3 separate regions of the Homo sapiens genome follow, and all the other regions are linked to region 3. The links are contacts of gene promoters, found by promoter capture Hi-C in human tissues and cell types (Jung and others, 2019). All regions are on one chromosome and are shown on one strand. The core of a region is centred on a gene start or on the middle of the fragment in contact, and the rest is flanking DNA. Distances in the headings are between cores, read along the strand shown.

Region 1 (3,278 bases), core at 25-2,524, 260 kb after region 3:
TGGAGTCTCCCTCTGTCACCCAGGCTAGAGTGCAGTGGTGTGATCTCGGCTCACTGCAAGCTCCGCCTCCTGGGTTCACGCCATTCTCCTGCCTCAGCCTCCCAAGTAGCTGGGACTACAGGCGCCCGCCACCACGTCCGGCTAATTTTTTGTGTTTTTAGTAGAGACAGGTTTCACCGTGTTAGCCAGCATGGTCTCAGTCTCCTGACCTCGTGATCCTCCTTCCTCTGCCTCCCAAAGTGCTGGGATTACAGGTGTGAGCCACTGCACTCAGCCTTGTTTTTGTTTATTAGAAGCAAGGTCTCACTCTGTCTTTCAGGCTTCAGTACAGTGTGCAATCATAGCTCACTGCAGCCTTGAACTTCTAGGCTCAAGCAATACTCTTCCCTTAGCCTTCCAAGTAATGCCACCACACTAAGCTAATTTTTTTTTTTTTTTTTTTGAGACGGAGTTTTGCTCTTGTTGCCCAGGCCAGAGTGCAATGCCACGATCTCAGCTCACCACCACCCCCGCCTCCTGTGTTCAAGCGATTCTCCTGCCTCAGCTTCCTGAGTAGCTGGGATTACAGGCATGCACCACCATGCCCAGCTAATTTTTTTTTTTTTTTTTTTAGTAAAGACAGGGTTTCTCCATGTTGGTCAGGCTGGTCTGTGAACTCCCTACCTCAGGTGATCCGCCCACCTCAGCCTCGGCCTCCCAAAGTGCTGGGATTACAGGTGTGAGCCACTGCGCCCGGCCTACACCCAGCTAATTTTTAAATTTTTTGTAGAGACAGGGCCTCTCTATGTTGCCCATGCTGGTCTTGAACTTCTGACCTCAAGTGATCCTCCCACCTCACCTCCCAAGTAGCTAAGATTACAGGCTTGTGCCACCATACCTGACTACATTTTTGTGTTTTGTTTTGTTTTGTTTTGTTTTTTGAGACAGAGTCTTGCTCTTGTTGTCCAGGCTGGAGTGCAATGGCACAATCTCGGCTGACTACAACCTCCACCTCCCCAGTTCAGGTGATTCTTCTGCCTCAGCCTCCCGAGTAGCTGGAACTACAGGCATGCATCACCATGCCCGGCTAATTTTTTTTTATTTTTAGTAGAGAACAGGGTTTTTGCCTGTTGGCCATGCTGGTCTCAAGCTTCTGACCTCAGGTGATCTGTCCGCCTTGGCCTTCCAAAGTACTGGGATGGCGTGAGCCACCACACCTGGCCTACATTTTTGTTTTTTAATGACTTGTATAATTTTCACAAGTAATTTTCATGATTGATAGAATATTTAGCTTATTCTTAGAGTAATGTAGACAGAAGGTGGCTTTAGTTTTACAAAATCATGTTTTATGTTTTTGCTATTAAAGTACCATTGCATTAAACCAAAAAGATTCCCATATCCTGAAAATTAGGGCTTCAGTCATTCTTATGGTGGAATGTGGATCTTATATTATCTGTTGTGAAAAAGAGACATATAAGAACCTGATGACATGTTCACAAAGACCTAAAATGCAGTACAGTCTGGCTTCTTTACTGTTGAATGTAGAATGGAATGTTCTTTCTGTGAGATGTGTACACAGAGCCTATTAGTGAACTTGAAAAGCAGGATACTTGGCCGGGCGCAGTGGCTCATGCCTGTAATCCCAGCACTTAGGGAGGCCGAGGCAGGCGGATCACCTGAGGTTGGGGGTTCGAGACCAGCCTGACCAACATGGAGAAACCCTGTCTCTACTAAAAATACAAAATTAACTGAATGTGGTGGCACGTGCCTGTAAATCCCAGCTACTCAGGAGGCTGAGGCAGGAGAATCACTTGAACCCAGGAGGTAGAAGTTGTGGTGAGCCAAGATCGCGCCATTGCGCTCCAGCCTGGGCAACAAGAGTGAAACTCCGTCTCAAAAAAAAAAAAAAAAAAAGGGGCAGGATGCTCTTCCAGTGAGCTCTCTTTTCCAACTGGGTAGTCATCTCATTCTACCCTGCAAAATGACAGCAGTCCTACAAAGCCTGAACAGCCAGTATACCCAGAATATCCACCACTGGACAGCATGGAAACAGGAAATGTGTGTCTTGGCCCACACATTTAGCCTGTCCCAGCCTAACCAGGCTGTTTCATGAGATTGGAAATGCAAAAGAGTGCATCCCTTAACTGCCACAAAGATCAACTGTTTTCAGCTGATGGTTAAAATCATCAAAACATGGTTTTATTTTAAATTTTATCCCCTTGCATTGTTTCACATTATCATAATCCATTGTAGTGAAGTATTACCAAATCAGTAAAATTTAATGGACCAAAGTCCTTTCACTGTCCTTCATTTGGTCCAGAGGAAGAGGTGAACCAAGGCTTTTTGTTTCTCATGTATTCTAGATGACATTCTTTCCCATCTCCTCTCAACCCTGAATCTACCAACTACTCACGCTACCTGCTAGGGAAAGATTATTTATCCCCCAGGCTTCTGAGGAAAGTCATCCACAAAATTGGATAGTAATAGTACCTACTTTCTTAGACTTCTTTGGCAAAAAAAATGAAATGATACACATAAAGTACTCACCAGAGAGCCTGCTGGGAGTGAGCACACAGCAACATTAGCAGCTTCTATTCTATATGAGCTCCCCTGTTCATTCTCCTCAGGCCCTAAGTCATTCTTATCCTGTACACATACCCTAGTCTCTGCTGTCTTCTTCATTTTGTTTTCCTTTTCTCTTTTTTTTTTTTTTTTTTTGAGACAGTCTTGCTCTGTCGCCCAGGCTGGAGTGCAGTGGCACAATCTCGGCTTACTGCGACCTCCACCTCCTGGGTTCAAGCGATTCTCGTGCCTTAGCCTCCTGAGTAGCTGGGATTACAGGCACACACCACCACGCCTGGCTAATTTTTTGTAGTTTAGGTAGAGATGGGGTTTCGCCGCCATGTTGCCCAAGCTGGTCTCGAACTCCTGAGCTCAGGCAGTCTGCCTGCCGTGGCCTCCCAAAGTGCTAGGATTATAGGCATGAGCCACTGCACCAGGCCATTTTTTTTTCCTTTTTTCTTTTTTTCTTTTTTTTTTTTGAGATGGAGTCTGACTCTTTTGCCCAGGCTGGAGTACAGTGGTGCAACCTCGGATCACTGCAACCTCCACCTCCCAGGTTTAAGTGATTCTTGTGCCTCAGTCTCCCAAGTAGCTGGGATTACAGTTGTGCACCACCACTCCTGGCTAATTTTTGTGTATGTATGTATGTATGTATGCATGTATGTATTTTATTTATTTTTGAGACAGAGTTTCGTTCTTGTCGCCCAGGCTGGAGTGCAATGGCGTGATCTCGGCTC
Region 2 (3,060 bases), core at 180-2,679, 380 kb after region 3:
CAGGCCGAAGGTCAGCCTTGAGTCCCGTTTAACAGCAGATCCAGAAGACCTTGAGAGTAGGCGTCCTCTAACCACGGGGGAGAGTGGCTGTGCAGGGCTGGGGGGTGGTCTGTGCAGACACCTCCTCACCCACCACCCCATGCATACTCTTGGGAAGCAGCTTCCTGGGAGATTAGAAATTCTACTTCCCTGACTGGAGCTAAATCCCACCAGCCAGGACCCAAACTCTCCTTACCGAGAAGGACCCCAGCTCTTGAAGGGCTGAGTGGCCTGCTGGGGGTGGGAGGGTGTCTTTACTATGTCCTAGGTTTCGTAGATGCCCCTCTCTGGGGTTCCCCTCCTCCAGCCCAGCGGCCCTCTTTCCTGTCTGTGTAAATTGTTCCGTGAAGCCGCGCTCTGTTTTGGGAATAAACTTCTATAGAAAACAGTTGTTGCCTTTTCCTGTTGGGGGCTGGGGAGGTAGGATGGAAGCTGTGAATGATTCAAGCCAGACTGACCTTTGGGAGGAATCTGAGCCCCTCCCAAGAATATCCAGCTATTTTTAGCCCATTTCATGGCAGATCTCTTTCACCTTGAAATCTGGCCCCTCACTTTGTAATTGGGGCCTGATGTTGGAGCACAGGTGCTGAAAATAAGGTGCTAAGGAAAACCTCCCCGCTGGTCAAGGCAACGGCAACAGGACTTCCTAATTCTTCAGGGTCTGCAGCCCTGACCCGGCATTTTTTGCCCTCACCTGCGGTGAAACCAACCTGAGGAACTGCTCTTGCAGTTCCTGCCTTGCCCACCCAACAGCACTGACGCCCACCCAACAGCACTGACCCCCACCATTCTCCTCGGCGGCCCGCGCAGTAACCTTCTGGGAGCTACGTCCGGGCTGTGCTTAGTGCAGCGGAGGGGATCCTCCAACCATTTCTGGCCTGGGTGGCCAGAGTTAAAGGGGAGGACTTGGGGACCGTTGGCTCCGGGTCTCAAAGAGATGCGTAGTCGCAGAAAGCCTGCGGGTGGCGCTCTCAGCTGAAGGCAAGAGAGGCCCCACAGACCTGGATCCCCTACGAGTTAAGGCTGGGGTCACCGGCCAGTGGAGTTTCCTTTTCCCACTCCGTGAGCACCTTCCGCCGAGCCAGGACCTGGGATCAGCTCCAACCTACTCAGGGCCTGGGGGCGCGACTGCGGCCAGCCCGGCGCGGGTGCTTAGTTCCAGTTCTGCAGTCCCATCCAGCTCCGGGCAGAGGGCCGGGCGAGCAGCGAGAGGCCTCATAGGCCAGGTCGCCGGGGAGGAAGCGGTTAAATCCTCCTTCTCCAGTCTCTCCCCGCCCGGCGCGCGCCACTTAGGCCCCGCCCCAGCGCGCTGATTGGCCCAAGCCTCCCCGTCCTGCCCCGGGATTAGCCCCCGGGAGAGCGCAGCTGGCCTCACCCGGTCCCGGCGCCGCCTTCCGGAGCGTAGCGGCCTCTAGCTCGAGCAGCAGGAGCAGCCCGCACCGGACAACTTGCGAGCCATGGGGCTGGCGGATGCGTCGGGGTGAGTTCAGCGCACATTCCCGGTGGCCCCGCGCGAGCGCCTCGCTGGAGCAGGCATTCTCCGCTTGCGACGCCTCGCTGGAGCAGGCATTCTCCGCTTGCGACGCCTCGGTTTACCTCTGCTGATTTTCTGCAGGCGGCTGCCCCTCTGCAGCAAGGGGTGGGGGCGGGAGCCGGCGCGACCCCAGTCCCTTGGGCTGTGCGGAAAGCCGCTGGTGTGACGCCCGAGGGCCATCCCGGGCCACAGGGAGGCAGCTGCGTGCGGAGGAGCCCGGCCAGGAGATGTGCCGGCGGGGGTGCGTGGGGCACGGGAGTCCCTGGCAGCGGCCCGTGGACTAGCTGCTTTCAGCTGAGTCCCGAGTCCACCCAGCTCCACTGATCCCGGAGTGAGCGCTCCGGCCTTTCTGGCCCCAGTTGCCTTCCTACAGGGAGGGGCCAATGATCAAGGCTCCGCCCTCCAAACGCGGGTCCCAAGTTGTCGGGGGAGGGAGCCCTTTAAGAAGACCTGAGTGACTCACGTAGGAAAGGAGAGGGGGCTCTACGATCTCCTTGAGATAGCGGTCCCAAGAGTCTCTGAGGATCTTCCTTGCACCCACTCCACACTCCTCCAACAGTACAGCCAGGTTAGAGGCGCTTCCCAGGTGAGTTCCTGTCCCTCAAATGGGATCCTCTCCCCAGGTCAGGGCTTTTCCTAGATCAGAACTTTCCTGACTGGTGAAAGCTTCCCCAACAGGCTAGAGTTTTCCCCCAGGTAAGATCCTTCTGTGAGATCTATTCCCAGGTGACAGCTTTTCCCCATTCCACGTGGGAGCCTCGCCCGAGGTCAGAGCTTTCTCTATGGGAGAGTACCCCCCAGGTGAGAACCCTCTCCCTCTAGGTCTTTTCTTCCCATGTGAGATCTTTCTCTGACTTCAAGTAGGTGCCTCTGGGCAGAGGGAAGATTCCCCCTGTATCAGAACTTGCCAGGCTGATAAAGATTCCCTGGTAGGTCAGAGATCCCTCTAGGTGAGATTCCCCTTGAAAGCTTCTATTCCCAGGTGAGCTCTTTCCCCCACTTCAAGTGGGTACTTCCCTTTCCATGTGGGAGCCTCTCCCTCTAGGTGAGAGATTGCCACTCCAAGAGCAAGCTCCTTCTCAGGTGAGAGCCAGTCCTTGGCTTCCCCATAACAGGCCTGAGCCGTCTACAACCTGGACCCTGGGGCTGGAGGCCCAGGGGCAAGCTTGGCTCCAACACTTTCCTTCCCTTAGAGGGGAGGGTCTCATCTGAGGCCTGAGGCTTGGGAAAGGAGTTGCTTGAGGAGCTGGACCCCTGGTTTGCTGGACCCCTTCCCTGAGTGTGCTCTCAGCCAGCAGTGGGCTCCCGGGGCAGCTGGAGGAGGACCTGGGGACTGGAGAGGGACTGGGTGGGGGAGGGAGCAGCCTGGGACCTGGACTGGTAGAACACTCAGCACTGGGCTGCCACATCTCGGCTGGAGGTATAGCTAGTGCTCATCCTGCAGTCCCTACTTGGGGGACTTTGTCCTAGAAAGAGGCTTTCTCACC
Region 3 (3,081 bases), core at 152-2,651:
GAAGACATTTGGGAACCTTTGTGGGAGAAAGAAAAAGACCTTTCCTATTGGTAGAGGAGCAAGATACTCCAACTGAGGCCTATTTTCTATTATGGTCGCATTATTTGGTTGGCCCGTAAATGGCTGTTGCCTAAAACAGGAAGCTTTAAGGATCGTTGTTAAAGCACACCAGGTTAAAGGAGTCACATTAAAAGCTGGTCATTCTGAGCCGGGCGCGGTGGCTCACGCCTGTAATCCCAGCACTTTGGGAGGCCGAGGCAGGCGGATCACCTGAGGTCGGGAGTTCGAGGCTTGACAAACATGGAGAAACCCCGTCTCTATTAAAAATACAAAAGTAGCCGGGCGTGGTGGCGCGTGCCTGTAATCCCAGCTACTTGGGAGACTGAGGCAGGATAATCACTTGAACCCGGGAGGGGGAGGTTGCGGTGAGCCAAGATCACACCACTGTACTCCAGCCTGGGCAACAGGAGCGAAACTCCGTCTCAAAAAAAAAAAAAAAAAGTCTGGTAATTCTGGAAGCCATCATGATGGTTGTGATTTCTCAGGTATCAAGAGAAGAAAACCGCCAACTGTATCAGAGTGCTTATTTATTGGGCATAAAGACCACCCGGGCTGGGTGCAGTGGCTGATGCCTGTAATCCCAGCACTTTCGGAGGCCGAGGCGGGCAGGTCACGAGGTCAGGAGTTCGAGACCAGCCTGGCCAACATGGCGAAACCCCGTCTCTACTAAAAATACAAAAATTAGCCGGGCGTGGTGGCGGGCGCCCGTAATCCCAGCTACTCGGGAGGCTGAGGAGGAGAATCCTGTGAATCCGGGAGGTGGAGGCTGCAGTGAGCCGAGATCGTGCCACTGCACTCCAGCCTGGGAGACAAGAGCAAGACTCCGTCTCAAACAAACAAAAAAACACCCATATCTCAAACGAGAAAATGCTTGCAAATAACCTGAAACCGCGGAACACTATTCTTTTTAAAACGAGATATTTTAAGTAGGTCGTGAAAGTGGCCTTAATGTTATACTGCCTTATTCCAGTGACGAATATTCATCATGTGTAAAATGGGAGAAATGAAATGTTATTAAAACAAACATGTGAGACTTCGATGAGAAGAGACGGTACCCGGTCTAAGCGCCCACCGGGTCGCGAGGATCCTTTTCCTGGTTAAGGCCTGGGTCACAGCGAAAGAACCCTAGGCCCAGGGAGGGCCCCGAGATTTCAGATCCGGGGCCCGGCTGTGCAGGTGGACCACGCGGAAGGGGCGCTGGGGGCGGTAGGTCGAAAGCAGCCGACAGGGCTACCACTGGCGCACCTGTCCACTTACGGGGACCACCGCCGCATCCCCGCCCCAGCTAGTCGGTCCTTTCCGGAAGTTCCACCTCCCTAAATTTTTTTCCGGTTCCGCTTACTCCTTCCGGTCACCATGGCGACCAGGCGCCTTGGGGTCGGGGAGACGCTGGGGGCCCTCAACGCGGCCCTGGGGCCAGGCGGTCCGGTGTGGATCAAGGAGACGCGCACCCGCCACCTGCGTTCCCGAGACTTTCTGGCACCGCACCGCGCGCTGCAGGCGCGCTTCGATGACGGCCAGGTGGGCGTGAGCCGGGCGGGGCCGTGCGGCCGGGAGATGGGCCCCGTGCCGTGGCTCTTTTACACGCCCGTTCTCCCGCAGGTTCCGGAGCATTTGCTCCATGCCCTCGCCTGCCTGCAGGGCCCCGGTGTGGCCCCGGTGCTGCGCTGCGCGCCGACCCCCGCGGGTCTGTCTCTCCAACTGCAGCGGTCCGCCGTCTTCGAGCGCGTCCTCAGCGCCGTGGCCGCCTATGCCACGCCCGCCTCGCCTGCCTCGCTGGGCCAGCGCGTCTTACTACACTGCCCAGCACTGCGCAGCTCCCCCTGCGCACTCCGCTTGAGCCAGCTGCGTACGGTGCTCGTGGCCGATCACCTGGCGCGAGCCCTGCGCGCTCACGGGTGAGCGGGGCCGCGGGGCCGGAATGGAGAAAGTGGGACTGCCGGGTACCTAGAAAGCGAGCGGCGCCGCCCGTGGGGACTGCGGCTGGAGGTGGGAAGTCGTGGCGAGCTGGACCAGGTGCTCAGACTGAGGCGGCCGCCCTCCCTTCGCAGGGTGTGCGTGCGCCTAGTGCCAGCTGTGCGGGATCCGCACATGCTGACCTTCCTGCAGCAACTGCGGGTGGACTGGCCCGCTGCCTCGGAGAGAGCTTCCTCCCACACCCTGAGGAGCCACGCCCTTGAAGAACTTACCTCTGCTAATGACGGGAGGACACTGTCCCCTGGCATCCTAGGCAGACTGTGTCTGAAGGAGCTGGTGGAAGAACAGGGCCGCACAGCTGGCTATGACCCCAACCTGGACAACTGTCTGGGTAGGACCTGAAGCCTAGCAGGGCCAGAAAAGGCAGGAGGGGGTTAGGGGCACATCTCTGCTTCTTGTCAGTCTCAGCACCTGTCTGTTCTCTTTTCAGTGACTGAGGATCTCCTCTCTGTGCTGGCTGAGCTGCAAGAGGCTCTATGGCATTGGCCCGAGGACAGCCACCCAGGCCTGGTTAGTGACTCCCAGCCCTGTAGGTTCTCCCAAACCAAGTATACTGTACTTCCACAGTTATGATTGTCCTCCCTTAGGCTGGGGCCTCAGATACTGGTACAGGCGGCTGCCTGGTTGTACATGTTGTTAGCTGTGAGGAGGAGTTCCAGCAACAGAAGTTGGACCTGCTTTGGCAGAAGTTGGTTGACAAGGCTCCACTCAGACAGGTAGGTTAATAATGATGGTGGAGCTCCCCACCACCTAACCCCCAACCTCAGAGGGCCCTTGAAAACCCACCGAGGGGCTTGTTAGCTGACAGAAACCAACACTTGACCTTGGGGGAGTTGCTGGACTTGAGAGGGCATGTACAGCAGGTGCAGAGGCTCTGGGGAAGGGGGGTCTGTAGACACATCCCAAGAACACTGAAGACCAGGTTGAGAAGGATGAACCATGCGTAGCCTGAGTGGCTGGGTAGACGGAGGCACTCAACCTGGCAGTTCCAATTTGAGGGAGTCTGGGCTGAGTAGAGGCACCAGATTTGGGCTCCTCAAGGGA

What was found. Contacts are between HindIII fragments. The study calls those that stand out against the background at their distance.
Region 1: a contact is called between a fragment that was not itself captured here and the fragment with the promoter of DALRD3 in region 3, in 1 of the 25 tissues and cell types used here (bladder).
Region 2: a contact is called between the fragment with the promoter of SLC26A6 here and the fragment with the promoter of DALRD3 in region 3, in 1 of the 25 tissues and cell types used here (psoas muscle).

The regions. Positions count from the first base shown.
Region 1 is chr3:48,758,000-48,761,277 of GRCh38, reverse strand. All of the region lies in intron 8 of PRKAR2A (protein kinase cAMP-dependent type II regulatory subunit alpha), which reads left to right. Among named protein-coding and RNA genes, the nearest start is that of IP6K2, 42 kb to the right of the region's middle. The HindIII fragment of the contact is 4,310 bases long and covers 1-3,278 here.
Region 2 is chr3:48,633,830-48,636,889 of GRCh38, reverse strand. SLC26A6 (solute carrier family 26 member 6) reads left to right here and starts at 1,429. Exons shown (of 21, transcript NM_022911.3): 1 at 1,429-1,519. The coding sequence starts at 1,497. It overlaps CELSR3 (cadherin EGF LAG seven-pass G-type receptor 3), which reads left to right. Exons shown (of 35, transcript NM_001407.3): 35 at 1-427. RefSeq lists silencers at 1,221-1,500, 1,891-1,990. The HindIII fragment of the contact is 9,287 bases long and covers 1-2,391 here.
Region 3 is chr3:49,016,900-49,019,980 of GRCh38, reverse strand. DALRD3 (DALR anticodon binding domain containing 3) reads left to right here and starts at 1,401. Exons shown (of 12, transcript NM_001009996.3): 1 at 1,401-1,581; 2 at 1,663-1,958; 3 at 2,112-2,368; 4 at 2,468-2,547; 5 at 2,625-2,753. The coding sequence starts at 1,417. RefSeq lists a silencer at 2,171-2,405 and enhancers at 1,854-2,625, 2,911-2,980. The HindIII fragment of the contact is 18,150 bases long and covers 1-3,081 here.